Regions from separate parts of the Homo sapiens genome. Here regions 1, 2, 3, 4, 5 and 7 are each linked to region 6. Evidence: promoter capture Hi-C in 16 types of primary human blood cells and fetal thymus (Javierre and others, 2016). All regions are on one chromosome and are shown on one strand. Each heading gives the region's core, a stretch centred on a gene start or on the middle of the fragment in contact. The rest is flanking DNA. Distances are from core to core; before and after follow the strand shown.

Region 1 (3,792 bases), core at 1,126-3,625, 310 kb before region 6:
TATTGTTAAATGCTTGTGAAATCACACCTGCTACAGCATTCCCCTCCAAAAGCATCTTTTCTCAGGTCACCACCAATGAAATCGTTAGCAACTGAGCTGCCACCCAGGTCCAGGAACTATCTGCGTCCACCTATCAACCAGGACAGTATCCCCTCATCTGCTGGGTGATGGGTGAGCCAGTTCCAAATCCCCTTCCTACTGCCTCTTTTCTTGGGGCACTTTCAGCACCACTTACGTTAGTCTGGGACTTTAAAGAAAAAGATGCCAAGATGGGATTAACCATGCCAGACTTTATCAGGTGAAAAGTCTGTGGGAGAAAATGGTGAGGGAGCCAAGGTGCTGGAGAGTTTTCAGACCATGATGCCAGCTTGAACTTGCATGAAGGAGAAAGGGAAAGAGCACTGGGCAGAAGCATTTCTGCCGTGCAGTCTGGGGAAGTTCTGGCAGTTGAGAAGTTCTCAAGCCAAAGTCAGCTGTCAGATGAGGACAATGTGTCCCGGGAATGGTTTCACCTTAGTATCCCTGCATGCTCAGTCATTGTCTGGGAGCTGCCTGTGGAAGATGCTTGTGGCTTTGGGGCAAACGTGGCAATAGCTCTCTCTCTTTTTTTTTGAGATGGAGTCTCGCTCTGTCACCCAGGCTGGAGTGCAGTGGCACTATCTTGCCTCACTGCAACCTCCGCCTGCCAGGTTCAAGCAATTCTCCTGCCTCAGCCTACTGAGTAGCTGGGATTACAGGTGTGCACCACCATGCCTGGCTGACTTTTTTTTTTTGAGACAGTCTCACTCTGTTGTCAGGCTGGAGTGCAGTGGCACTATCTTGGCTCACTGCAACCTCCGCCTCCTGGTTTCAAGAGATTTTCCTGCCCCAGCCTCCCGAGTAGCTGGGACTACAGGTGTGCACCACCACACCCAGCTAATTTTTTTATTTTTAGTAGAGACGGGGTTTCCCCATGTTGGCCAGGATAGTCTCGATCTCTTGACCTTGCGATCCACCCGCCTCCGCCTCCAAAAGTGCTGGGATTACAGGTGTGAGCCACCGCGCCCAGCCGGTAATGTCTTTTAAAACTGTCCAATTAAAAGTGTCCATCCAATAGCTAGTGAAGCTACAGAGGCAGGTGAGTATAGAACAAGCTTATAATCAGAGCTATCTTAACAGGAAGTGTGGGTAGGGACTCCTGGCAGGTGGTGAGAATAGATGGAGGCCAGGAGATCCTGCTGCCTTGAAAGATTCCTCTTGCTAATCTTGTGCTCAGGCCTAAAACCTCACACATAAAACTTTATGCCTTTGTTTTGTTGTCGATGTTGAGACAGAGTCTCACTCTGTCACCCAGGCTGGAGTGCAGTGGCGCTATCTCAACTCACTGTAACCTCCGCTCCCTGGGTTCAAGCAATTCTCATGCCCCAGACTCCCGAATAGATGGGACTACAGGTGCGTGTCACCATGCCCAGCCAATTTTTGTATTTTTAGTGGAGATGGGGTTTTGCCATATTGGCCAGGCTGATCTCGAACTCCTGGCCTCAAATGATCTGCTTCCCTTGGCCTCCCAAAGTGCTGGGATTACAGGTGTGAGCCATTGCACTTAGTCGAAGCTTTATGCCTTTGGATTAAGGTAATGTCTTTTGACAAAATGCACGTGGCCTTGGGAGGGATAAAAGACGACTCCACAATGGGTTACTAACACATGATAATGAGCCAGGATTGGTGCTTCATGCCTGTAATCCCAGCATTTTGGGAGGCAGAGGTGAGTGGATCATTTGAGCCCAGAAATTTAGACCAGCTGGCGCAACATAGCAAGACCACGTATCTACAAAAAAAAAAATTAAAAATTAGCTGGGTGTGATAGCACGCACCTGTAGTCCCAGCTACCTTCGAGGCTGAGGTGGGAGGATCGCTGGAGCCTGGGAAGTTGAAGCTACTGTAAGCCGTGATCACACCACTGCATTCCAGCCTGGGTGACAGAGCGAGACCCTGTCTCAAAATAAAATAAAATAAAATAAAAAATTTAAAAAATGGCTGTGCACGGTGGCTCGACCCTGTAATCCCAGCACTTTGGGAGGCTGAGGAGGGTGGATCACCTGAGGTCAGGAGTTTGAGACTACCCTGGCCAACATGGTGAAACCCCGTCTCTACTAAAAATACAAAAATTAGCTGGCCATGGTGGTGCACACCTGTAATCCCAGCTACTCAGGAGGCTGAGGCAGGAGAATTGCTTGAACCCAGGAGACAGAGGTTGCAGTGAGCCGAGATTGTGCCGTTGTACTCCAGCCTGGGTGACAGAGTGAGACTCCGTTTAAAAAAAAAATGGAATTGAGTGAGTGAATAACATTGTTGGGGTCAGCCAAAGCATGTTGGGGTGGGGTGGTGGGGCTGGTGGAGGTATGAGGAAGTTAGAAGAATACATGAGCACTTAAGAAGAAAGTTTGCCAGGACAGCATGAGGGAATATCTGGAAAGCAAAAGAGATTTTATAATTTTGATAACAGAATTTATTTCACAATTTTATCTTTAGTCAATCTTGGTCTTAATATAAAACTAGTTAAGTTAAAAACAAAATAAAACATCTCTTTTTTTTTTTTTTTTTTTTTTTTTTTTTGAGACAGAGTCTCACTCTGTTGCCCAGGCTGGAGGGCAGTCCTACGATCTTGGCTCACTGCAACCTCACCTCCCAGGTTCAAATGATTCTCCTGCCTCAGCCTCCCAGACAGCTGGGATTACAGGTGCCCACCACCATGCCTGGCTAATTTTTATATTTTTAGCAGAGATGGGGTTTCACAACATTGGCCAGGCTGGTCTCAAACTCCTGACCTCAGGTGATCCAACTGCCTCAGCCTCCCAAAGTGCTAGGGTTACAGGTGTGAGCCATGGCACCTGGCCTAAACATCTCTTATTTATGCCTGCCAACACTTGACCAAAATTGGCATCTCTTGGAGGCACTAAGGTGGGGTGAAGGGACTTGTTGATGAGCGAGGGGCTGGAGTATTATAAAATGAAACTCTTTTTTCATTGGCAGAGATTCTTCTTCCATTCTTTTTATAGTTTATATTCCTTTTACTTAGTGGGCAGAGGGAAACCTCACAGCAAATCATCCTAGAGAACCAAGACCCGGGTCAGGAAGGAGTGGCTCATGTATTTGTGTCCTCAGACCTTCTTGGCCTTCAAGCTTAGAGCCCCAAACAGGAGTCCAGAGGGGGGATCTAGGACCTTACAAAGCAAGAAAAGTGTGAGAAGAACAAAGGTGGGGCAGATTGGGTAGGGGCTGGAGCCATCCTGGCTACTTTCTTTTAGGAAGGTGAAGCCGTGACGTCAGTGCTGTAGACCAATGGGTCAACACCAGACCCTGTGGTCAATGGACCTTCATCACCAGGGATTGGGAGGCTGTGCTCCTGAGGAGGTGCTACACCTGGGGCAGGGTTGGAAGCAGGCTGGAAAGGGCCTTGCTCTCATCATCCCTTGTATATGTTCCTATTAATCCACTTATCTTAGTATATATACTGGAATTTATTTACTGAAGTTCCCTCCAAAAAGTAAACCACGAATTCCACAATGTTCACCTTGACAGTAGGCACCTGAGGTAGGCAGCATCCACGCTGCCTCCAGGGGTTCCTCCCTCTCCCGGCGCTGTGGTTGGAAGGTGTCCCCCAAACCATATGTTGGAAACTTAATCTACAATGCAACAGTGTTGAGAAGCGGGACCTTTAAGAGGCAGTGGGGTCATGATGGCTCTGCCCTCGTGGATGGATTAATGCTATTATTACAAGTGTGGGGCCCCCTCTTGCTCTCTCTTCTGTGT
Region 2 (3,931 bases), core at 77-2,576, 320 kb after region 6:
TTGTATGTATATACCACATTTTGTTTATCCGTTCACCTGCTGATGGACACTTGCGTTGCTTCCAGCTTTTGGCTGTTGTTAATAGTGCTGCTATGAACGTAGGTGTACAGGTATCTATTCAAATCCTTGCTTTCAGTTCTTTTGGGTATATACCCAGAAATGGAATTGGCTGGATCCTATGGTAATTCTATTTTTAGAGGAACCACTGCTATATTTTTTCGTGGTAGCCGCACCATTTTACATTCCCACCAACAGTGCACACGTATTCCAGTTTCTCCACGTCTTCACCAGCATTTGTTAATTTTTTTTGTATTTTAATTTATAGTAGTTATTCTGTTGTTTGTGATGTGATATCTTGTGGTTTTGATCTGTGTTTCTCTAATCATTAGTGATGTTGAGGATCCCTTCATGTGTTTGGTGACCATGTGTTTATCTTCTTTGGAGAAATGTCTATTCAGAGACATTCAGAAAATGTCTTTGCCCATTTTTAAATTAGGTGGTTTGGTTTTTGTTGTTGCTAAGTGACAGGAGTTATTCATATATTCTGGATAGTAACCCCTTACCAGATAGATGATTTGCAAATATTTACTTCCATTCCGTGTTATATTTTTGCCTTTTCACTCTGTTGATTGTGTCCTTTGATGCACAGAAGTTTTTAAGTTTGATGTCCCGTTTGTCTATTTTTTATTTTGTTGCCTGTGCTTTTGGTGTCGTGTCCAAGAAACCATTACCAAATTCAGTGTCATGAAGCTTTTCCCTTACATTTTCTTCTAGGAGTTTTATTGTTTTAGCTTTTATGTTTCGTTCTTTGATCCTGAGTTAATTTTGGTATATAGTGTAAGGTAAGGGTCCGATTGCATTCTTTGGCATATGGATATCCAGTTTCCCTGGCACCATTTGCTGAAAATACTGTCTTTTCCCCCACTGAATGGTCTTGGGACCCTTGTCAAAGATCATTTGACCATATATGTGAGGATTTATTCTGTTCCATTGGTCTGTATGTCTGTCTTTATGCCAGCAGCATACTGTTGATTACTATGGCTTTGTAATAAATTTTGAAATCAGGAGTCTGAGACCTCCAACTTTGTTCTTCACCTTCTCTCCCTTTTTTTGTATTCATCATATAATAATCAGCAATAGCCATTTAATCAGAGTTCACTAATTAAATCTTACTCTGTCTAGAGAAATCTGCTGTATTATATCAGAAGGTACTTATTGAGCGCTGGTCCAGGTGCTGGGAATACAGAAATGAACACGGTAGCTTCTTCCTTCAGAGTCAAATTCTTAGTGGCATTGAAAATGGGGAGGGTAGACAGTAAACACAAAAGCAAATAAAATTACTTCAGTTACAAATAAGTGCTGTGAAGATAAGAGTAGCTGGGGGATAAGGAAGTAGCTTATTCTTGGGTGGTTAGGCATGGTCTCTCTGAGAAGGTGCTACTTCATTGAGACCTGCTGGTGAGAAAGGCAGCCATGCAAAGATTTGGAGGAATAGCGTTGTAAGGAGTAGCAACAGCAAAATCAAGAGGTCCCAATTTTGTGAATAATTTCACTGAGATTTGTATGTTAAACCAGATTAGATTTTCACTGAGGTATGTGTCTGTTAAGCCAGATTAGATTACCTTCTAGAATAAATCCTTTAGTTCTTCAGATTGAAATTGCCTTTGAAGTGTGATTAGAAGTTATCTCTCACATCCCGGAGATTACATTCTTGGACGGGACTTGAGCTTTCTGTGACATTGATGATGGACTCATGAGCCTGATTGTTGCCCAATTGTCTAGGTAGTGGATGTTGAACTCCATCGCCATTCTCTCGGAGAAGACTGTATCTATCCTCAGTCCTCGGAGTCTGACATCTCTGATGCCCCTCCATCTTTGCCTTTGACCATTCCAGCCCCAGTGAAAGCTTCTTCACCAATAAAGCAGTCACATGAGCCAGTACCCGATACCTCTGTGGAGAAAGGTAATACAGCAGTTTTCCTTGCATAGCGTTGTTCTGAGGCATTCCTTTCCCATTTGCTGCTTTCAGAGACCTATAGTATATGGAAAATAACTTTGCTATAAGTGGACATGCTGCCTCTACTACACAGTTCTGTTATGAAAGCCAAATTTCCACTCTTGTCAAAAATATTTTTCCGGCCGGGAGCTGTGGTTCACACCTGTAATCCCAGCACTTTGGGAGGCCAAGGCGGGTGGATCATGAGGTCAGGAGATTAAGACCATCCTGACTAACACGGTGAAACCCCGTCTCTACTAAAAATACAAAAATTTAGCTGGGTGTGATGGTGGGTGCCTGTAGTCCCAGCTACTCGGGAGGCTGAGGCAGGAGAATGGCTCGAACCCGGGAGGTGGAGCTTGCAGTGAGCTGAGATGGTACCACTGCACTCCAGCCTGGACAACAGAGCGAGACTCCATCTCAAAAAAAAAAAAAAAAATTTCCATGAAGTTTTACTGACATATTATAAAATGTAAAAATAGCTAAAAAACATAAGATTTTTAAATTTATTTTTATTTTATTTTATTTTGAGATGGAGTCTTGCTCTGTTGCCCAGGCTGGAGTGCAGTGGCATGATCTCGCCTCACTGCAACCTCCACCTCCTGGGTTCAAGCAATTCTCCTGCCTCAGCCTCCCTGTTAGCTAGGATTACAGGCGTCCACCACCGCTCTCGGCTAATTTTTGTATTTTTAGTAGAGATGGGTTTTCACCATGTTGGCCAGGCTGGTCTCGAACTCATGACCTCAGGTGATCCACCCACCTTGGCCTCCCAAAGTGCTGGGATTACAGGCATGACCCACCACGCCTGGCCTAAAACAGATTTTTATCACTTGATAATTCCTTATAATGTATTACAGGAAGACTTTATGGTTCAGCTTCTGATTGTGCGAGCAAGAAACTTGGATATTAAATACCTGGTTTTACTTAAGAAAAGATTCATCACCAACAATGTATTTTGACCATGCCATTTTTAAATTTAACAAATATATGTGTATAAATACATATTTTAATGTTCCCATATATAAGCATAAAAGATATAAAATTGATCTTAAATGTTTTATTTCTAAGCCTATATTTTAATGTGGTTAGTATTATAGTTCTTTTATAAAATCTCAACTTTATTCCTCTTTAGATTTCAATTGCATCTTTTTTATGGGCATTTAATAAGATACAAGAGGGGCCGGGCACGGTGGCTCATGCCTGTAATTCCCAGCCTTTTGGGAGGCTGAAACCATCGGATCACCTGAGGTCAGGAGTTCAAGACCAGCCTGGCCAACATGGCAAAACCCCGTCTCTACTAAAAATACAAAAATTAGCCAGGGATGGTGGTGCATACCTGTAATCCCAGCTATTCCGGAGGCTGAGGCACAAGAATTGCTTGAACCCGGGAGGTGGAGGTAGCAGTGAGCTGAGATCACACCACTGCACTCTAGCCTGGGTGACAAGTGAAATAATGTCTCAAAAATAAGTAAATAAATAAGATAGGAGGATATCATTAGATTTAGTGAATGCTTTCTAAGATTTTTTCTTCTCTAAACAGTTTTTCAGTTTATATATTAAAAAATGGAGGAACATAAGAACTTTTGTTCTTTTTATGTTATACATGGTTTATAGTTAATAATGTTTTCAAGTTTTTTTAAAAAAGCACTTTAAACATTATTCTAAGCATATATATTTTTCACCAAAAATATGAAGGGATGATTGATTGTATTTATTTTGCTACCAGTACATGGTTTAAAATGGTGTTGAAATAATGCATTTTTATTCTTTTTCCACAACGGTAAGGTTTTATTTCAAAGCGATTGATGACTTGCCGTTTGCCTCTTTCATCTCAAGCAGGATTCCCAGCTAGCACTGAAGCTGAACGACACACTCCGTTTTATGCTTTGCCATCTTCATTGGAAAGAACACCCACCAAAATGACTACATCCCAGA
Region 3 (3,531 bases), core at 60-2,559, 340 kb after region 6:
TGCTGGGATTACAGGCATGAGCCACCACGCCCGGCCAAACTTTTTTCTTTATACTTCTGAATTTCCCAAATTTTCTATTAAAGTAAATTATAAAAAGTAGCTGAGGCAAGACAACAATTGTTAAGCTTCTATTATTGTAATACCCAAGTGTAAGAAATACAGTTGCCGTTCACACCTGTGTAGGTAGCTTTCCTAGATGACTGAATTAGGCTGCATGTATTATGTGCAGGCCTTTGTTTTGCTCTCTGCCAAAACGGTGACTGCTGTTCTAAGAGCTCTCGAAGCACCGTTGGACTCTGCTCTGTTTTGAACAGGTTGTCGGGGTACCAGTTGGGTCTGCTTTACCTTCAACAGTGAAGCAGGCTGTGGCGATCAGTGGTGGCCAGATCCTGGTAGCCAAGGCCAGCTCTTCTGTCTCCAAAGCAGTTGGGCCAAAGCAAGTTGTAACCCAAGGAGTTGCCAAAGCAATTGTGAGTGGAGGTGGAGGAACCATTGTTGCTCAGCCAGTGCAGACCTTAACCAAGGCCCAGGTTACTGCCGCTGGTCCTCAGAAGAGTGGATCCCAGGGTTCAGGTAAAACGGATCATCACTGGGAGCCCTTTCAGCAGAAGCTCTGTCCAAAATTTCCTTTGCTAGTGATTTTATTTGCTATTTGATCTGGTCTAGGAAAGCCTAGTTAGGTTGATGCTGTAAGAAGTGTATTGAAATGTTTGTTCTTTTTTATGGGACATTTTACATAAAGGTCTGTGAGTATTTAGCTTTAAATTTACACACACACACACACACACCCACATACACACACACACACGAACAAATCATTTCTCAGTACTGTGGGGGATTGGTTCCAGGACCCCCTGCTGCAGATAGCAAAATCCACAGATGCTAATCCACAGTCCCCTGTGTAAAATGCTGTACTGTTTACGTATAACCTATGTACATCCTCTGATGTACTTTACTTTATATCATCTCTAGGTTATCTTAATACCTAATAACAATGTAAATAACAATGTAATAACAATGTATATGCTATGTAAATAGTTGTTACACTGTGTTGTTTAAGGAATAATGACAAGAAAAAAGTCTGTACATGTTCAGTACAGATGTACTCATCCTTTTGTCTGCCAAATATATGGATATTTTTTATCTGAGGTAGGTTACATCCATGGATGTGAAATCCACAGATACAGAGGGCCAATGGTACTTGCCAGTTAGGAGCACACATTTGCCCTAACTTTGACTTTAAACAAATGGGGGAAAATATGTAATCCTCCATAGACAGGGTGATTATTTCATTAATCGTCCAAACCACAGTACTTTGGAGAGTAAAAAGAGTCATTATTAATAATTATAGTGGGACAGGTGTAACCTAGAACTGTTCTGGGCAGAACCAGGACGTACGATCATCCTATTATATACAGATATAAAGAGCCTCTGGCAGGCTCTTCTGGTCTATAAATTATTTTTTAATTAGCAAGATATTTAAGAATATCAGTCTTTAAAGCATTGTGCATCTGGGAAACAAACTTTGAATTTATTGCTTGTTAGTGTTCTAAAATAAGAATTTATTGCCTTGTATTTTAATTTTAGAGTGTTGCCCTTAGTTTCAATTTATCTTACAATTTTTTCTCCTTTACCATTTTAGTAATGGCAACGTTGCAGCTACCAGCCACTAATTTGGCCAACTTGGCAAATTTGCCTCCTGGCACTAAACTCTACCTAACTACAAACAGCAAGAACCCTTCAGGAAAAGGAAAACTGCTGCTGATCCCTCAAGGAGCCATCCTGCGAGCTACGAACAATGCTAGTTAGTGAAACCATTGGGTTGAATCATTTGGTTCTTGGTTCTCTATGTGTGTTCATCTTGTCCATCTGAGGGCAGTTCTTACCTGTTTCAGGAAGCATTTCTGTAACTCTGTTGGGTGGTGTAATGGTAGCATTTGCTCAGATGGATTTAACACATACGATAATTTAACTAGAAGTGGGTTTGCTCCTCAGCGTTTGCAATCAGAGATGAATCACTCTGGAGAGAGATGGCTGGTGAGGCTGTTGGGAGAAAGCTGTCTACATGAACCATGAATGAAGTGGTGTCTGAAAATTATCTGGTGATACCTGAGGGAAGATCCATCTACTTATAGAAGCTGGAAGTCTGTTTTTGGGGATAGGTTGGCATAGGATTGGAATCGAGTGTGTCTGTTTGACTTCATTTAGATCAGGGGTCCCCAACCCCTGGGCCGCACAGCAGAAGTTGAGCATGGACGAAGAAGCATTACTGCCTGAGCTCCGCCTCCTGTCAGATCAGCAGTGGCATCAGATTCTCACAGGAGCGCGAACCCTGTTGAGAACTGTGCATGCGAGGGATCTAGGTTGTGTGCTCCTTATGAGAATCTAATGCCTGATGATCTGAGGTGGAACAATTTCTTCCCCAAACCACCCCCCGCCTCCTGTCCCAATTCATGGAAAAGTTGTCTTCCATGAAACTGGTCCCTGGTGCCACAAAGCTTGGGGACAGCTGGTTTGGATGTATTCCTTACTTCTGCTAGGTTTGGAGATGGAAAGAGAAATACAGACTCTACCTAGGTTTGTAAGTCTTAAAGCCCCATGGAAATGAGGCAGTTTATCTGCAGTTAAAGAAACTTTTGCTTTGACATATAGAGAAAAACCGTTTGGGCAGTGTTGAAAAGGATAGGATAAAAGGAAATTATTTCCCTCTGAATCAGAAGTAGAAGGGTACAGCATTCAGGGTCATTGGAAGTTAACCGCCCTTGCCAAAATGCAGTGTGTCAGCTCATCATCCTTGCGTTCATTGACCATGATGTGTCAGTTCCACTCTCACTTGGTGTTTTTTCCTCATACCTAAGCAGTGGTATGTCCAAAAGTTAAATGTGTAAGAAAAGGACAATGTAAATATTTCAGAAGTCATCCAGGGAGCTACTTAGATTCTTGTGATATCCTTGGTGCAAAAATAAACCATTGGGAAGGAAGCTATTCCAATAATCACTGGAATGAAGGTGGAGAAGGAAATTGGAAGTTAGTATTTGTTGAGTGAATATTCATAGTCCAGGTAGTTCAAATGCATTATCTCACCAAAAGAGAAGTAAAAAGACTTCAAGGCTTTGAAGTGGGATTTGAAAGGCAAAGAAGAATGGGGTCCTGGAGTCATTGTAAATGAAGGAAAGTCTTCATTTTTCCTGAGACAGGGAGACAACATCGAGCACTGTAAAGTTACACTAAATTCCAGCAATTCCCTGACATTGAATCAGATGCCCAAAAGTTGGGAAGCACCTAGCTGAGCACATTTAAGTGTTGATTAAAATACTTGGCTAGAGGCTGGGTGCAGTGGCTCACACCTGCAATCCCAGCACTTTGGAGGGCCAAGGCGGGCGGATCATGAGGTCAGGAGATCGAGACCATCCTGTCCAACATGGTGAAACCCCCTCTCTACTAAAAATACAAAATTAGCTGGGCATGGTGGCACACGCCTGTAGTCCCAGCTCCTTGGGAGGCTGAGGCAGGAGAATCGCTTGAACCCGG
Region 4 (3,526 bases), core at 153-2,652, 330 kb before region 6:
CTATATCCAATCAGCTAGAAGTTATACTTTATTACACTTTTATATGTTTCATAGTTGGGAATTCCATGTTAAATTTTATTTGGAAAAAAAGGTTTTGCTACTTAAAATAGCTTTTTCAAAGAACTGCTTTAGACCATCGTAGTTATGATTTTCCAATCCAATACACTAAGAGGGTCAAATGGACAGAAAGAACAAACGAATATAAAATGTTCTCCATTATTGCCCTCTGTATTTTATTTATTTATTTTTACTTTTTTTTTTTTTTTTTTGAGACGAAGTCTTGCTCTGTCGCCCAGGCTGGAGTGCAGTGGCGAGATCTTGGCTCATTGCAACCTGCGCCTCCTGGGTTCAAGCAATTCTCCTGCCTCAGCCTCCCAAGCATCTGGGATTACAGGCACCCGCCACCACGCCCAGCTAATTTTTGTATTTTTTAGTAGACACAGGGTTTTGCCATGTTGTCCAGGCTGGTCTCGAACTCCTGACCTCAGGTGATCCACCCACCTCAGCCTCCCAAAGTGCTGGGATACAGGCATGAGCCACTGCGCCCGGCTGCCCTCTGTATTTTAGACTTAACAGCAAGAGAGATTTGATACAAAAGAGGTGAAAACCATGACTTAACACTTCCTAGAAAATTATCGTGAAAATCCAAAATTTATGATAACTAATTCTATTATGCATATATTAAGGGATTAAACATTTCCCTTTCTTAAACACTTCCAGTCTGAAGCAAAATCAAATAGAACAACAAAGTCTGTCAGTACCTGTGGCTGTTGTGTACTTCATGGTTCTTTGCCTCCACACCCATGTCCTATAACATAAATCCAAAAGGAATTACAATTAAACAGAATAGGCAACACAATTGTTCTTTCAAAAGAATTTCAGTTTCTTAAAACATGAAACCTTAAGCCAACTAACAGTGCTTTAGTAAGACTTTCTTAGTGGGTAGAAAACTAATCTAGAACTCAAGAGTTAGAGTTCTGGCTGTTTTCCCTCGTACTACCTGTCCTTGAATGAGTCACCTAGCCTGCTTGTTCCTGAGGCTGGCATAAGACCACAGTCAGAGATGATTAAACAACCAAGGTATACCAACATCATCTAGTTTAGCTTTTTTGAAACCTTTTTGGCTACAACTCACAATACAAACTACCCAGGACACACACTTAATGAAAACAGATGTTTTGTTAAAAATGACTCATTCTGCCCTGGCCAGGCACGGTGGCTCACACCTGTAATCCCAGCACTTTGGGAAGCCGAGGCAAGCAGATCATGAGGTCAGGAGATTGAGGCCATCCTGGCTAACACGGTGAAACCCTGTCTCTACTGAAAACACAAAAAATTAGCCGGGCGTCATGGCGGGCACCTGTAGTCCCAGCTACTCGGGAGGCTGAGGCAGGAGAATGGCGTGAACCCAGGAGGCAGAGCTTGCAGTGAGCCGAGACTGGGCCACTGCACTCCAGCCTGGGTGACAGAGCGAGACTCCGTCTCAAAAAAAAAAACAAAAACAAAAAGAACAAAACTCTTTTGGTTCTTTCAGTTGTATCCTATTTTATTAAAATATGCTGGTCAATCTACAGTTTGAAAAATACCAATCAAGTTTAAACATGAGACATGTTTAAAAAGTAAGACCAGAGAAATAAACGGAAGTTAAACAGGGGCAACAGAAAGAATGTTGGCTGTGGGACCAGAAAAGCTGCATTCTCATCCGAGTCCCTCCAATGACCAGCTTGCCCAGGGTCGAGTCACTTTACATCAGTGTTTCTCCAACTTTTTTTTCATTATTACTCTCCTAATGAGAAAACTTTTAAAAGATTTTATTCCTTGTAGGAAGGGTGGGGTAAGGTTGAGCTTTGGAAAGCCGTAAACCATGACAAAATCTAAGATTTCCTGGCTCTCCTAAGAATCAATTTCCACCCTTTAGCGGTGGTATCATCCCAGTTGAGGATGCAAGATTTAATAGCTTGGGCTTCAGTGTTCTCACACACGAGATGAGACTATAAGAGGTGATCTTGAAGGTACCTCTCAGATTTAAAAGTACTATACAATTCTATTCCAAGTCCTTGTATTTAAAAAAATGGAGAAATGGGGAGACAAAATGACTTGAGGTATTTTAATGAGGTAGAAGTCTCAACAATTTTTAAGTTTCGTGATACCTGTGTATAAAATAAAGTAACCAAGAGCTGACAGAAAACAGGCCAGATTCACTTTAGGAACAAAAAAGTATAACGTCTATTAAGTTTCAGCTAAAGAGGATAAGTGGGCTGGGTGCAGTGGCTCACGCCTGTAATCCTAGCAATTTGAGAGGCTGAGGTGGGGGGATTACCTGAGGTCAGGAGTTCGAGACCAGCCTGGCCAACATGGTGAAACCCCATCTCTACTAACAATACAAAAATTAGCCAGGTGTGGTGGTGCGCACCTGTAATCTCAGCTACTTGGGAGGCTGAGGCAGGAGTATCACTTGAACTTGGGAGGTGGAGGTTGCAGTGAGCCAAGATCGTGCCACTACATTCCAGCCTGGGTGACAGAGTGAGACTCCATCTCAAAAAAAAAAATAAATAAATAAATAAAAAGCATATGCAGGGAAACAAACAAATTACAGAAGCAATTCCACCTATCTTTTTGTCTATACCTGGAAGATGTGGTTATAAAGGACTAACTAACCATTTTAGATTATTCACAAAGCACAAGATAAAAGCACAGCGTGTGCATTAGAAACTATGTAACTAGGCAGTAGTATATACATATTATGTATATGACTATGTAGTTGAGCAGGACTAGTATTTCACTGGAGCGGAGATGCAGTAGACATCTACACATCTATATGCGTCTATACACTCATTGCCCTACAATGCACACTCAGATGCTGCCATCCATGAGGAGCTGCTGGGAAGACCCACAGCTTTGGCAGGAGAGTTCCGTGAGCTAGCTTCCTCACGAGGCTGCTGCTTTCCCACACCTTTCCATTTCAGCTGATGTTACCTTCTTGATCCTGAAGGAGGGGGATCATCTTTCCTGATCTTTATGAGGTATTTTCTAGCTCATAGCATCGTCTTCCCTTTACATTCTTCAGATAGGCTTCTGATAAGTTTCAAGGCCTATTCTGGGCAGATGTATCTATTAAATGGTTGCTTGTTGGTAAAGCTAGCTTAAGACTGATTCGGTTTCAAGGCTACTGTTGACCTAAAGCTTTCTTTTGCAATCTTCTAGTGAAGACAGAAGAAGGGAGAGAGGGAAAAAGAGGGAGAAAGAGACAGAGATCCCACTTAACTGTAATCCACTATCCCAACAATGTTCTGATCATCTATTCCATTTTTCACAATTATCTAAGCTGCAACTTAAAAGCAATGGCTTAAACAAGATTAAGAAGCTGCTTCCCCGGAGCTTGCAGTGAGCCGAGATTGCGCCACTGCAGTCCGCAGTCCGGCCTGGGCGACAGAGCGAGACTCCGTCTCAAAAAAAAAAAAAGAAGCTGCTTCCCTGATTCAAGGTAGCTCTATACCAGCTTATTGTCATGTCTATAATTCTGCCA
Region 5 (3,682 bases), core at 194-2,693, 350 kb before region 6:
GATACAGATAAAATGCTGGATACTCATATGTTGCAGCCAGTTTAGAGTTTTATATCTTTTAAACCAAAGTTCAATTTTATTTTATTAACTTTTATTTTAGGTTTGGGGTGCATGTGAAGATTACACAGGTGAATACATGTCACAGGGGTTTGTTGTACAGAGTTCGTCACCCAGGTATTAAGCCCAGTATTCAATAGTTATCTTTTCTGCTCCTCTCCCTCCCACCTTCCCCACTCAGGTAGACCCCAGTGTCTTTTGTTTCCTTCTTTGTGTTCTTAAGTTCTTATCATTCAGCTCCCACTTCTAAGTGAGAACATGCAGTATTTGGTTTTCTGTTCCTGTGGGAGTTTGCTAAGGATAATAGCTTCCAGCTCCATCCATGTTCCCGCAAAAGATGTGATCTTATGCTTTATTATGGCTGCATAGTATTCCGTGGTGTATATGTACCACCTTTTCTTCATCCAATCTGTCACTGATGGGCATTTAGGCTGATTCAATGACTTTGCTATTGTGAATGATGCAATGAACATACATGCACATGTGTCTTTATGGTAGAATAATTTATATTCCTCTGGGTATCAACCAGTAATGGGATTGCTGGGTTGAATGGCAGTTTTGCTTTTAGCTCTTTGAGGAATCACCCTGCTGCTTTCCACAATGGTTGAACTAATTTACACTCCTACCAACAGTGTATAAGCGTTCCCTTTTCTCCACAACCTCCTGACATCTGTTATTTTTTTGACTTCTTAGTAATAGCCATTCTGACTGGTGTGAGATGGTGTCTCATTGTGGTTTTGATTTGCGTTTCTCTAATGATCAGTGATATTGAGCTTTTTTTCATGTTTGTTGGTCACATGTATGTCTTCTTTTGAGAAGTGCCTGTTCATGTCCTTTGCCCACTTTTTTTTTTTTTGAGACAGAGTCTTGCTCTGTCACCCAGGCTAGAGTGCAGTGGCATGATCTCATCTCATTGCAACCTCTGCTTCCCAGGTTCACGCCATTCTCCTGCCTCAGCCTCCCAAGTAGCTGGGACTACAGGTGCCTGCCACCACGCCCTGCTAATCTTTTTGTATTTTTAGTAGAGACAGGGTTTCACCATGTTAGCCAGGATGGTCTCATCTCCTGACCGTGTGATCTGCCCGCCTCGGCCTCCCAAAGTGTTGGAATTACAGACGTGAGCCACTGTGCCCGGCTGTCCTTTGCCCACTTTTTAATGGGGTTGTTTTTCTCTTGCACATCTGTTTAAGTTCCTTATAGATGCTAGATATTAGACTTTTGTCAGATGCAAACTTTGCAAATATTTTCTCCCACAATTTGAGTATTTTATATAAAATGGTCAAACATCTATACTAGGCAAATGAAACAGGTCTATGTCCTAGTCCTCCCTGGTTTGGGTTTTCTTTTGAGATATGATTTATAATACATAATATTCATGCATTTATAGTTTGGTGAATTTAGTAAATCTATACAATTGTGCAACTACAATTGGATCACTACAATCCAGTTTGAGAACACCTGCATCACTTGAAAAAGTTCCCATGTGCCCATGTGCAATCTGTTCCCAATACCCAAGCAACAACTGACTTGTTGTCTCTATAGTTTTGCCTTTAAAAAAATTCATATAAACAGAATCATACAGTACATAGTATTATGTGTCTGGCTTCTTTAACTTCACATAATTTTTCAAGGTTTATTCATGTTATGGAGTGTGTCAGTAGCTCATTTCTTTTTATAATATGGATTCTGTTATATGGATATACCACATTTTGTTTACCCATTCATTTGAATTATTTTCCAGTTTGTGGTTATTATGAATAACGGTGTTATAAACATTCACAGACAAGTCTGTGTGAACATATTTTTCATTTCTCTTGGGTAAATACCCAGGAGTGCAATTGTTTGGTCCTAATATGGTAAGAATACATTTAACTTTTCTAAAGCGATGATTTTATTTTGCATTTCTACCAGCAATTTATGATGCTTTAAAGTGTGTATCCATATCCCTGCCCACATGTTGTACTATCAGTCTTTCTGATTTTGGCCAATCTAGTGGGTGCATAGTGTTACTGCACTTTTTAAACATAGTTGTTGAGATATAATTCATATACCATAAACTCGGCCAACCCAATGATTTTTAGTATACTCAAAGTCGCACAATTATCACTATAATCTAAAATACTAAGATCTAATAATGTAAGTTTTTAACACTGCAAAAAGAAATCCTGTGCCTCTTAGCCATTCCTCACTCCCCATAAACCCCCAGCCCTAGGCAACTGTGAATCTACTGTCTCTATAGATTTACCTATATGAACATTTCATATAAATGGAATCATATAATACATGCAGTCTTTTGTGACTGGCTCTGTCACTGAACGTAATATTTTCAAGGTTCATCCATTTTTTGTTTAACACAAATCAGTACTTCATTCCTTTTTGATGGCAAAATAATACTCCATTGTATGGCTATACTGCATTTTATCTATCCACTCATCAGTTGATAGACATTTGCATTGTTCCTACTTTTTTGGCTACTATAAATAATGCTGCTATGAACATTCAGGTATAAATTTCTGTGCGGATGTGTTTTCATTTCTTTTGGGTATATACTGAAGAAGTAGAGTTACTAGTTCATAAAGTAACTCTATGTTTAACGTTTTGAGAAACTGCAAAACTGTTTTCCAAAGTGGCTGCTCCAGTTTACATTCCCATCAGTAACATAGAAGGGTTCCAATTTCTCTAAGTCCTCACCAATACTTGTTATCATCTCTTTTTGATTATAGCATCCTAGTGAGTATGAAGTGGTATCTCACCAAGGTTTTGATTTGTATTTCCCTAACAGCTAATATGTTGAACATCTTTTAATGGGCTTTCTGGTCATTTGTATAACTTCTTTGGTGAAGGATCTATTCAAATATTTTGCTCATTTTTTTAAAAAATTAGGTTTCCTAGCAACAGTTTCAAGCTTTGAAGTCAATTTTATCATTTTTTTTCGTGAACCTTTCTTATAGTATTATGTCTAAGAAATCTTTGCCTAATCCAAGGTCTCAAAGATTTTCTCCTATGTTTTCTTCTAGAAGTTTTATAGTTTTAGCTCTTACATTTAGGTCTGTGATATATTGTAAGTTAATTTTTTTTGTTTAAGGTGTGAGGCAAGAGTCTAGGATCTAGACTTCGGGTTCATCTTTTTACAAAGAGATGTCAAATTACTCCAGCACTATTTGTTGAAAAACTCTCCTTTCCTCTATTGAATTACTTTAGCACCTTTATTCAAAAATCAATTGACTACATATGTGAGTTTATTTTTGGATTTTCTATCCTGTTCTACTGACCTGTTTTTATCCTTATACCAATACCACGCTGTTTTGGTTATTGTAGCTTTATATATATATTTTGAGACAGAGCCTCGCAGTGTCTCCCAGGCTGGAGTGCAATGGCATGATCTTGGCTCACTGCAACCTCCACCTCCTGGGTTCCAGCGATTCTCCTGCCTCAGCCTCCTGAGCAGCTAGGATTACAGGCACCTGTCACCATGCCTGGCTAATTTTTGTATTTTTAGTAGAGACAGGGTTTCACCATGTTGGCCAGGCTGGTCTTGAACTCCTGACCTCAAGTGATCTGCCCACCTTGGTCTCCCAAAATGCTGGGGATTACAGGTGTGAGCCACTGCACCTGGCATAATGAG
Region 6 (4,053 bases), core at 934-3,433:
AATCACAGTGTACACAGTATTTCTACCCAAATTATCTTACTTATCTTCACAAGTAGCCTTTGAGCTGAGTGGGAAAGTACTATTAAAATTCCTATTTTTCAACCTGAGGTCGAATGACTTGTCCAGGGAAAGATTCAAATCCAGACGGTCACACCCCGAGTCCACTGCTCTTTCTCTATACCACAACTTCATGCCTGTGCTGGGTTTTAGCACAATCATTTCAACTTTCATCATATTGCAGATTCCGAATTCTGTTTCATTACAAGTTCTTTTTCCTCTTATTTCACACTGCCTTCAGCAATATTTCACATTCAACCTTACCTGGTAGGATCCTACTGATCTTTTGTCGTAAAAGTTCAGTGCCCACAATTGGCACCAGAAACTTTTTTCTAAACTTGAATTATCAAAACTGGGCCTTCCCATATAAATCATCTTTACAAAGTATGTCCTCACAAGTGTATCATTTGAGATGTGCACGATTATTACAGCAAACACGTTGGACTAATTGAGGCAACATTTAACATGCAAGTACCAAGAAAGCAGCTTTCACAAATGTGTAGAAAACCAAGGCAAATAGTTCCTGGCTTTATCAATAAAAGCTGATTTGCATTCATGGGAGGACCTCCAAGCACAGTCAGCAACAGAGAAAATGATCCCGATAATTCCAGTTGCCCACATCCAGAGGTTCTGAACCTGAATGTGTGTCTTTACTGAGGGAGGTCCAGGGAAGGCCAAGGGGAAGAAAGTGCTAAGAAAAAACTGACTGGGAACTGTCTCAATGTCCTCTTGCCCTTACTTAGTCTGTGGGGCCTGACGTTCCATCACAACCCTTATTTCAGGAGCAAGCAATGCATGTTTTGCTCCTCTTTTCAACTCAGGGAAGAAGATTAAAATTGCTCAGTCTCCTTGGCTTGCAGAGATTTCTCGCGGGGATCATCAGGGGTGTGCTTAACCCTCCAGGCAGCACAGTAAAACAGGCCTAGCGGCCGAGCTGCGCAGGGGCGCTCCCATGTAACCTGCCTCTCCCTGCACTTTCTTATAAACAAGCCTTCAGTGGCGTGGCAATCATTTCTGCTGAAAAGCACTGGCATTCGTTCCTCTTATGCCCTCTCCTTTCTCACTATCCCCAAAACCAGAACATAACTTCCCACCCACCCTACTCCCGTCAGAAGCAGCTAACGGATGGTAACAGCCCAGCAGCCCTCGGTTTGGAGCTCAACGGACTCGGCAACCACCTGGTGAAGGCACCAGCCTCGGCCCCCCGACCCCCACCAGCGGCGCGCCCCAGGGATGCCCCCCGCTGGGCACCGCAGGCAGGACCCAGAGCAGCGAGGCCCAGATGCCGGGCAACCCCCCAGGAAGCGCGCTGCCCCGGGGCAGCGGGTGAGGCCAGGAGCCAGATGAAGCCCAGAGACCATCCTCACCCGCCATTAATAAAACGCAGGAAAAATTAAAGCTTCGTTTACCGACATGAGTGATCACTGTGGCCAGTCGCCGGGTGAGCTCCTGGGGAGGCATCTCTTCTTTTAAGCAAGACAGCATTTCACTGAAAAACCATTCCGTATAAATAAAGCCAAACAAAACTGTTTCTACCGCTGCGGTGGATGATTTTTTAAAGGCATCTCCGCCCAAGGATGCTCTGCCCTCGCCCTCTTCCTGGCTCTCCAGGCAAGAAACGAGAGTCCCTCGCAGCCTAGGCCAGCTCTCCCTCGCCACGCCCCGCGGGGGCTCCCGTGACAGACCAAGTCTGGCGCTTTCCCAGCGTCGCAGCTGGACCGAGAGAGGAGCGGCCGTTCTGCAAAAGGAAGCAAGTCGCCAATCTCGCCGGAACCGCGCCCCGGCTCCTCCGGCCGGGCGAGCTCCGGGGCTTCCAGAATCGCGGTCCCGGCCGCCAGGTTTCCGGCGCCGCCTCCAGGGACTGTAGAGTGAGGGATGCTCCGCCAGGTGCAGGGGAGGCGGCAGGTGGCCGTGGCTTCTCTGCGCCGCCGGCCCCACGCCCCAGCGCCCACCTCGTCCAGCCCACGGGTGGCGCCCGGGGCTCTCGGGGAGGCACGCACGCTCCCAAGCGCCGCTCGTTTTGGGGTCGGGAACGCTGCGCACCTTTCCCTGCGGGGAGCCCGCGCTCCACCCCCGGAGTGGAGCTCCGGTCCTTACTCGGAACCGTGGGGCGGGGAGACAGTGACTGAGGCGCTCCAGTCGCACCGGGGTCCGGATCATCAGACGCGCGCCGGCCAGGTCTCCGCCCCTCCTTCTTCCGCGCCGGGTGTCTGCGGAGGAGCCGCGGAGAGAAGGGGGCTGGCCCGGAGAGCTGCCGCCATCCGGCAGGACCCGGAGCGGGAGGCTGGGTGAGGCGCCGCTGCTTGCCCCACCTCCTGACCCCGGGGGCGGCTGGCGTGTGTTTTCCCCCACTTGGGGTTGTTCCACGCAGTTCTTGACCTCCGCTGGCCACACCTGCACTGGGAGCCCGGCGCCCGGGCTGCGCTCCGACAAGGCTGAGCACGCGTGGGCGCGCTCACCCCCTATGTGGGCGTTTTCCTTCGTGCAGCTGCGCCCTTGCCTCTGCTCCGTCTGTCACCTGTCAGGCACGCCAGTGCTACCTTCTGGAGGGGCTGTGGCACATCCTCCATGCTGGTCCTCCTCCCCATCAGCCCATTATCCCGTGGTTTCCCTAGTTGGGCCCAGACACTTTCTGACTGGCAGCAAAAGACTAACCCCAGTTCAGCAGAGCGCTACGGGAAACGCCTGAGCAAATGCGAATTCGGTCAGGTTGTCCCCCAATCCTTTCTACAGCGGGAGTCCCTGAATACTCAGCAGGCGGAATGGCGGGACCACCCAGGCGGATGTTCTCAGCCATCTCTTTCCTCTTCGATATGTAAAAAGCCAAGCCGCAAACACCCTGGATCCAAATTCTAGGAGTAGCCACCCATCACAGGGGGCTGAGGGTATTTTTTTAATGCTTTCTCTTTTCTTCTTTTTTTTGGAGACTGAGTCTGGCTCTGTCGCCCAGGCTGGAGTGCAATGGCGCGATCTCAGCTCACTGCAAGCTCCGCCTCCCGGGTTCACGCCATTCTCCTGCCTCAGCCTCCCGAGTAGCTGGGACTACAGGCGCCCGCCACCACGCCCGGCTAATTTTTTGTATTTTTTAGTAGAGATGGGGTTTGTTTCACCGTGTTAGCCAAGGATGGTCTCGATCTCCTGACCTCGTGATCCGCCCACCTTGGCCTCCCAAAGTGCTGGGATTACAGGCGTGAGCCACCGCGCCCAGCCCTTTTTAATGCTTTCTCTAACAATTGTGGGCTGTGATTGAGAAGCGAGGTCAGTTCACCTGTGTCATGAGATTTGTGGAGAGGTTCTTCCCCCTGTGAAGTTTGGGCACTTTGCACTCTGCCTGCAAAACAGAGCAAGGATTTTCTTTTTCTTTTCTTTCTTTTTTTTTTTTTTCGTTTTTAGAGATGGAGTTTCACCATATTGCCCAGGCTGGTCTCAAACACATGGACTCAAGTGATCATGCCCGGCCACTGAGCAACCATTTTCACAACCACCTTTTGCAAGAGATTCAAAAAAGGGTTAAAAGGCCGGGCGTAGTGGCCCACGCCTGTAATCCCAGCACTTTGGGAGACCAAGGCGAGCGGATCACAAGGTCAGGCATTCAAGACCAGCCTGGCCAACATAGTGAAACCCCATTTTACTAAAAATACAAAAATTAGCTGGGTATGATGTCACGCACCTGTAATCCCAGCTACTCGGGAGGCTGAGGCAGGAGAATTGCTTGAACCTAGGAGGCGGAGGTTGCAGTGAGCCAAGACCGTGCCATTGCACTCCAGCCTGGGCAACAGAATGGGACTCCATCTCAAAAAAAAAAAAAAAAGAAAGGTTAAAGATCCGCAGGAGGGGAGGCAGCTTTTGAATTATGTTTCCGGCGTTCAAGGGTCACAAGAATTTTCAAGGAACCAAATGAGATGTTTCCTACTGATAGTAGTCAGAACCCTGGTGCCCAGTCACAGCCAACTGTGAGTTTTGGTCAGCAGAAACCAACGCCTAGTAAAGAAGACA
Region 7 (3,962 bases), core at 1,139-3,638, 360 kb after region 6:
TTTTTAAATTAGGCTGGGCGCAGTGGCTCATGCCTGTAATCCCAGCACTTTGGGAGGCCGAGAAGGGCGGATCACGAGGTCAGGAGATCAAACCATCCTGGCTAACAAGGTGAAACCCCCGTCTCTACTAAAAATACAAAAAAAAAAAATTAGCGGGGCGTGGTGACGGGCGCCTGTAGTCCCAGCTACTCAGGAGGCTGAGGCAGGAGAATGGCATGAACCCAGGAGGCAGAGCTTGCAGTGAGCCGAGATTGCGCCACTCCACTCCAGCCTGGACAGTAGAGCGAGATTCCATCTCAAAAAATATATATAAATAAATTATTATGGGTACATAATCAATGTGGATATTCACAGGGTACATGTGATGTTTTGATGCAGGCATACAATGCGTAATAATCGCATCAGGGTAATTGGGGTATCTGTCACCCTAAGCATTTATCTTTTTTTTAAACCAATTGTATTCTTTGTGACTGTAAAATATATAAGAAATTATTGTGAATTTTGGTCACCCTGTTGTGCTATCAAATACTAGATCTTACTCATCCCTTCTAACTATATTTTTGTACCCATTAACCATCCCCACTCCCTCCCTCCCTGCTGTTGGCCTTCCCACCTTCTGGTAACCACCATTCTTCTCTCTGTCTTCATGGGTTCAGTTGTTTTAATTGTTAGCTCCCACATGAGTGAGAACGTGTGAAATGTGTCTTTCTGTGCCTGGCTTATTTCACTTAACATAATGTCCTCCAGTTCTATCCATGTTGCAAATGACAGGATTTCATTCTTTCTTATAACGGAATAATATTGTATTGTGTATATGTACCACATTTTCTTTATCGTTCACCTGGTGATGGACACTTAGGTTGATTCCAAATCTTGGCTATTGTGAATAGTGCCGTAATAAACATGGAAGTGCAGACGTCTCCTCATATACTCATTTCCTTTGTTTTGGGTATATACCTAGCAGTGGGATGTGGATCATATGGTAGTTCTATTTTCAGTTTTTTGAGGACCCTCTGTACTGTTCTCTATCGTGATTGTACTAACTTAGATTCCCACCAGCAGTGTACGAGGGTTCCCTCTTCACATCCTCGCCAGCCTTTTGGATGAGAGTCATTTTAACTGGGTGGGATGCTTTCTCATTGTAGTTTTGATTTGTGTTTCTCTCACAATTAATGATGTTGAGCATTTTTTTATATGCCCCTTGGGCCATTTATGTGTCTTCTTTTGAGAAATGTGTGTTGAGATCTTTTGCCCATTTTCAAATGAGATTGTTTGGCTTTTTTCTATAGAGTTGTTTGAGCTTCTATATTCTGATTATTAATCCCTTGTCAGATGTATATGTAGTTTGCCAGTATTTCCTCCCATTCTGTGGGCTGTCTCTTTGTTGATTGTTTTCTTTGCTGTGCAGAAGCTTTTTAACTTGATGTGATCCCATTTATACATTTTTGTTTTGGTTGCCTGTGCTTTTGAGGTACTACTCAGGAAATCTTTGCCCAAACCGATGTCCTGGAGAGTTTCCCTAATGTTTTCTTGTAGTAGTTTCGTAGTTTGATGTCTTAGATTTAACTCTTTAATCCATTTTGATTGCATGGTGAGAGCTAGGGGTCTAGTTTCATTCTTCTGCATAAAGATATCCAGTTTTCCCAGCACAAGTCTTTATTAAAGTCCCAACTTACCTATTTTTCTTTCATTGCTTTTTCTTTTGATGTCACATCTGAGAAACCATTGCCTAATCCAAAGCCACAAAATTCAAGCCTTTGTTTTCTTCTAAGTTTTATACATTTAGCTCTTATATTTAGGTTTCAGATTCATTCGAGTTAATTTTTTTTTTTTTTTTTTTTTTTTTTTTGAGACAGAGTCTCGCTCTGTCACCCAAGCTGGAGTGCAGTGGCGCGATCTCGGCTCACTGCAACCTCCACCTCCTGGATTCAAGTGATTCTCCTGCCTCAGCCTCCTGAGTAGCTGAGATTACAGGCACCCACCACCACGCCCAGCTAATTTTTTTTTTTTTGTATTAGTAGAGATGGGGTTTCACCATGTTAGCCAGGAGGGTCTTGCTCTCCTGACCTCGTGATCCACCCGCTTTGGCCTCCCAAAGTGCTGGGATTATAGGCATGAGCCACTGCACCTGGCCGCTCTAGTTAATTTTTGTACGTGGTGTGAGGTAGACACCAAACTTTATTCTTTTTTATGTAAATATCCAGTTGGCCTAGAAACATTTGTTGAAAAACCATCTCTCAATCGTCTTGGAAGCCCACAGACTTGAATGATGTGGCTTGACTTCTCAAGCTTCATCTCCTGCAGCTGCTGCTTCCCCGTGCCTCTTCACAGGTGACACCACTCTGCTTTGCAGCTTCTTGAACATACAATGTTCTTTCATGCCTCACCAACTTTCTACATACTCTCCTCTGCCAGGAAACACTGTCATCTCTCCCTTTCTCTGTCTTAAATCTGGAAGATTCCTCTAAAGTGCCTAATGTTTTACCTGAAGCTTTTTCCTGTACCCTCCTGTTTCTATTCCTAGGCAGAAGCAGTGCCTTTCTTCTTGGTTGTGTTGGTGACATTTGCCTGTGCTTGCCGTAGCATCATTATACTTAGGTGACTGTTTCCTTGGTCGCTTTTCTCTCAGAGCCTTAGCACTTAACCATTATGCCGGCCATGTAGTAGATGTTTGTTCAATGAAGTGACAGACTGTAGATGTTTGTTCAATGAAGTGAATCATTGTCATGTGTTCTTAATAAAGCTCATTTTTAGTCCATGTGTATATTCTGAGAATATGTCCTCCTAGTTTTTTGGTGATGAAGTTGCCTTTTATAAAGGGATATAATAGGTGGTGAATTTTAAAAATATGATGACCCCCATGATACTTCCTTGTTTTAAATTTTTTAAATTTTCTTGGTCCATGAAATGTAAAGGTATAGTAACCACTGAACTAGAGAAGTAATCTTTTTTAAATGGTATGGCATTTACTAAGTAGTCATTAACACCTAATAGATGATATTTAGTGTGTGTGCTGTGTGGCCGTCACCGCCGTCAGTCATCACTCTGCTTTCTTCCTGAACTGTGTTGTTTCGGACCCCATGGGTGAGCAGTCTGAAGGAATGGCTCCCGTGTCTTCATCTACGGTCAGTTCTGTAACGAAAACTTCTGGGCAGCAGCAAGTGTGTGTGAGCCAGGCCACCGTGGGAACCTGCAAGGCTGCCACCCCCACCGTCGTCAGCGCCACGTCCCTCGTGCCTACACCAAACCCCATCTCTGGGAAAGCCACAGTATCCGGTGAGTTGCATTGTGATATTATTTCTCTCTCTTTTCTCTCATTGGGCTGGAATATTTTTGTTTGTTTGTTTGAGATAGCGTCTCACTCTGTCGCCCAAGCTAGAGTGCAATATCACAATCTCGACTCACTGCAACCTCTGCCTTCCAGGCTCAAGCCATCCTCCCACCTCAGCCTCTTGATTATCAGGGACCACAGGCACATGTCACCACACCCAGCTAATTTTTTGTGTTTTTGGTAGAGATGGGGTTTCACCACGTTGCCCAGGCTGGTGTTGAACTCCTCAGGTCAAGCAGTCCACCCACCTCAGCCTCCCAAAGTGCTGGGATTACAGGCGTGAGCCACTGTGCCCAGCTATTTTTTTGGAGGGTCTTAAGCAATATTTTGTATGGTAAATTGTTAAAAGTAATTAACCCAGCAGCATTTTCTGAACAGTTGCTTTTTAGATGAATTATTTTTGTTTAAAATCTACGTATCAGATTTTGTCTGAGACTTTAAATTATCATTTGAAAGTTACTATTTGAATTTTTGAATGATATAATAAACCCTTAGCCACGCAGAACCCTACTGGGTATTTTAGCTTTTTTTATAACGTAATTTTGGGGAGAGCCAAGAGTTTGCTTTCCTTAAAGTACTAATTTCTTTTTTCCTATAATCAGTGTCGAATAGAATTCACTATAAAATGTAT

The links. The method cuts DNA at HindIII sites, captures the fragments that hold promoters and counts their contacts. A CHiCAGO score of 5 or more calls a contact.
Region 1: a fragment that was not itself captured here is called in contact with the fragment with the promoter of MCF2L2 in region 6 in 14 of 17 cell types (M1 macrophages, M2 macrophages, M0 macrophages and 11 more); the score reaches 12.8 in M1 macrophages.
Region 2: a fragment that was not itself captured here is called in contact with the fragment with the promoter of MCF2L2 in region 6 in 10 of 17 cell types (activated CD4 T cells, naive CD4 T cells, naive B cells and 7 more); the score reaches 6.5 in activated CD4 T cells.
Region 3: a fragment that was not itself captured here is called in contact with the fragment with the promoter of MCF2L2 in region 6 in 14 of 17 cell types (megakaryocytes, endothelial precursors, activated CD4 T cells and 11 more); the score reaches 8.4 in megakaryocytes.
Region 4: a fragment that was not itself captured here is called in contact with the fragment with the promoter of MCF2L2 in region 6 in 2 of 17 cell types (M1 macrophages and activated CD4 T cells); the score reaches 5.3 in M1 macrophages.
Region 5: a contact is called between a fragment that was not itself captured here and the fragment with the promoter of MCF2L2 in region 6, in 3 of 17 cell types (M1 macrophages, M2 macrophages and activated CD4 T cells). The highest score is 8.5, in M1 macrophages.
Region 7: a contact is called between a fragment that was not itself captured here and the fragment with the promoter of MCF2L2 in region 6, in 12 of 17 cell types (fetal thymus, activated CD4 T cells, total CD4 T cells and 9 more). The highest score is 8.6, in fetal thymus.

Annotation. Positions count from the first base shown.
Region 1 is chr3:183,117,422-183,121,213 of GRCh38, forward strand. No RefSeq gene overlaps it. Among named protein-coding and RNA genes, the nearest start is that of MCCC1, 20 kb to the left of the region's middle. The HindIII fragment of the contact is 1,570 bases long and covers 1,591-3,160 here.
Region 2 is chr3:183,750,291-183,754,221 of GRCh38, forward strand. It overlaps YEATS2 (YEATS domain containing 2), which reads left to right. Exons shown (of 31, transcript NM_018023.5): 10 at 1,783-1,963; 11 at 3,836-3,931. Among named protein-coding and RNA genes, the nearest start is that of YEATS2, 54 kb to the left of the region's middle. The HindIII fragment of the contact is 1,156 bases long and covers 749-1,904 here.
Region 3 is chr3:183,771,991-183,775,521 of GRCh38, forward strand. YEATS2 (YEATS domain containing 2) reads left to right here. Exons shown (of 31, transcript NM_018023.5): 16 at 315-573; 17 at 1,643-1,804. Among named protein-coding and RNA genes, the nearest start is that of YEATS2-AS1, 37 kb to the right of the region's middle. The HindIII fragment of the contact is 2,373 bases long and covers 124-2,496 here.
Region 4 is chr3:183,093,798-183,097,323 of GRCh38, forward strand. MCCC1 (methylcrotonyl-CoA carboxylase subunit 1) reads right to left here. Exons shown (of 19, transcript NM_020166.5): 2 at 762-808. Among named protein-coding and RNA genes, the nearest start is that of MCCC1, 3.9 kb to the right of the region's middle. The HindIII fragment of the contact is 3,557 bases long and covers 1-3,181 here.
Region 5 is chr3:183,074,646-183,078,327 of GRCh38, forward strand. All of the region lies in intron 4 of MCCC1 (methylcrotonyl-CoA carboxylase subunit 1), which reads right to left. Among named protein-coding and RNA genes, the nearest start is that of MCCC1, 23 kb to the right of the region's middle. The HindIII fragment of the contact is 3,033 bases long and covers 1-2,960 here.
Region 6 is chr3:183,426,436-183,430,488 of GRCh38, forward strand. It overlaps MCF2L2 (MCF.2 cell line derived transforming sequence-like 2), which reads right to left and starts at 2,184. Exons shown (of 30, transcript NM_015078.4): 1 at 1,467-2,184. The coding sequence starts at 1,542. RefSeq lists a silencer at 1,934-2,013. The HindIII fragment of the contact is 2,747 bases long and covers 1,455-4,053 here.
Region 7 is chr3:183,787,705-183,791,666 of GRCh38, forward strand. It overlaps YEATS2 (YEATS domain containing 2), which reads left to right. Exons shown (of 31, transcript NM_018023.5): 21 at 3,093-3,276. Among named protein-coding and RNA genes, the nearest start is that of YEATS2-AS1, 21 kb to the right of the region's middle. The HindIII fragment of the contact is 202 bases long and covers 2,288-2,489 here.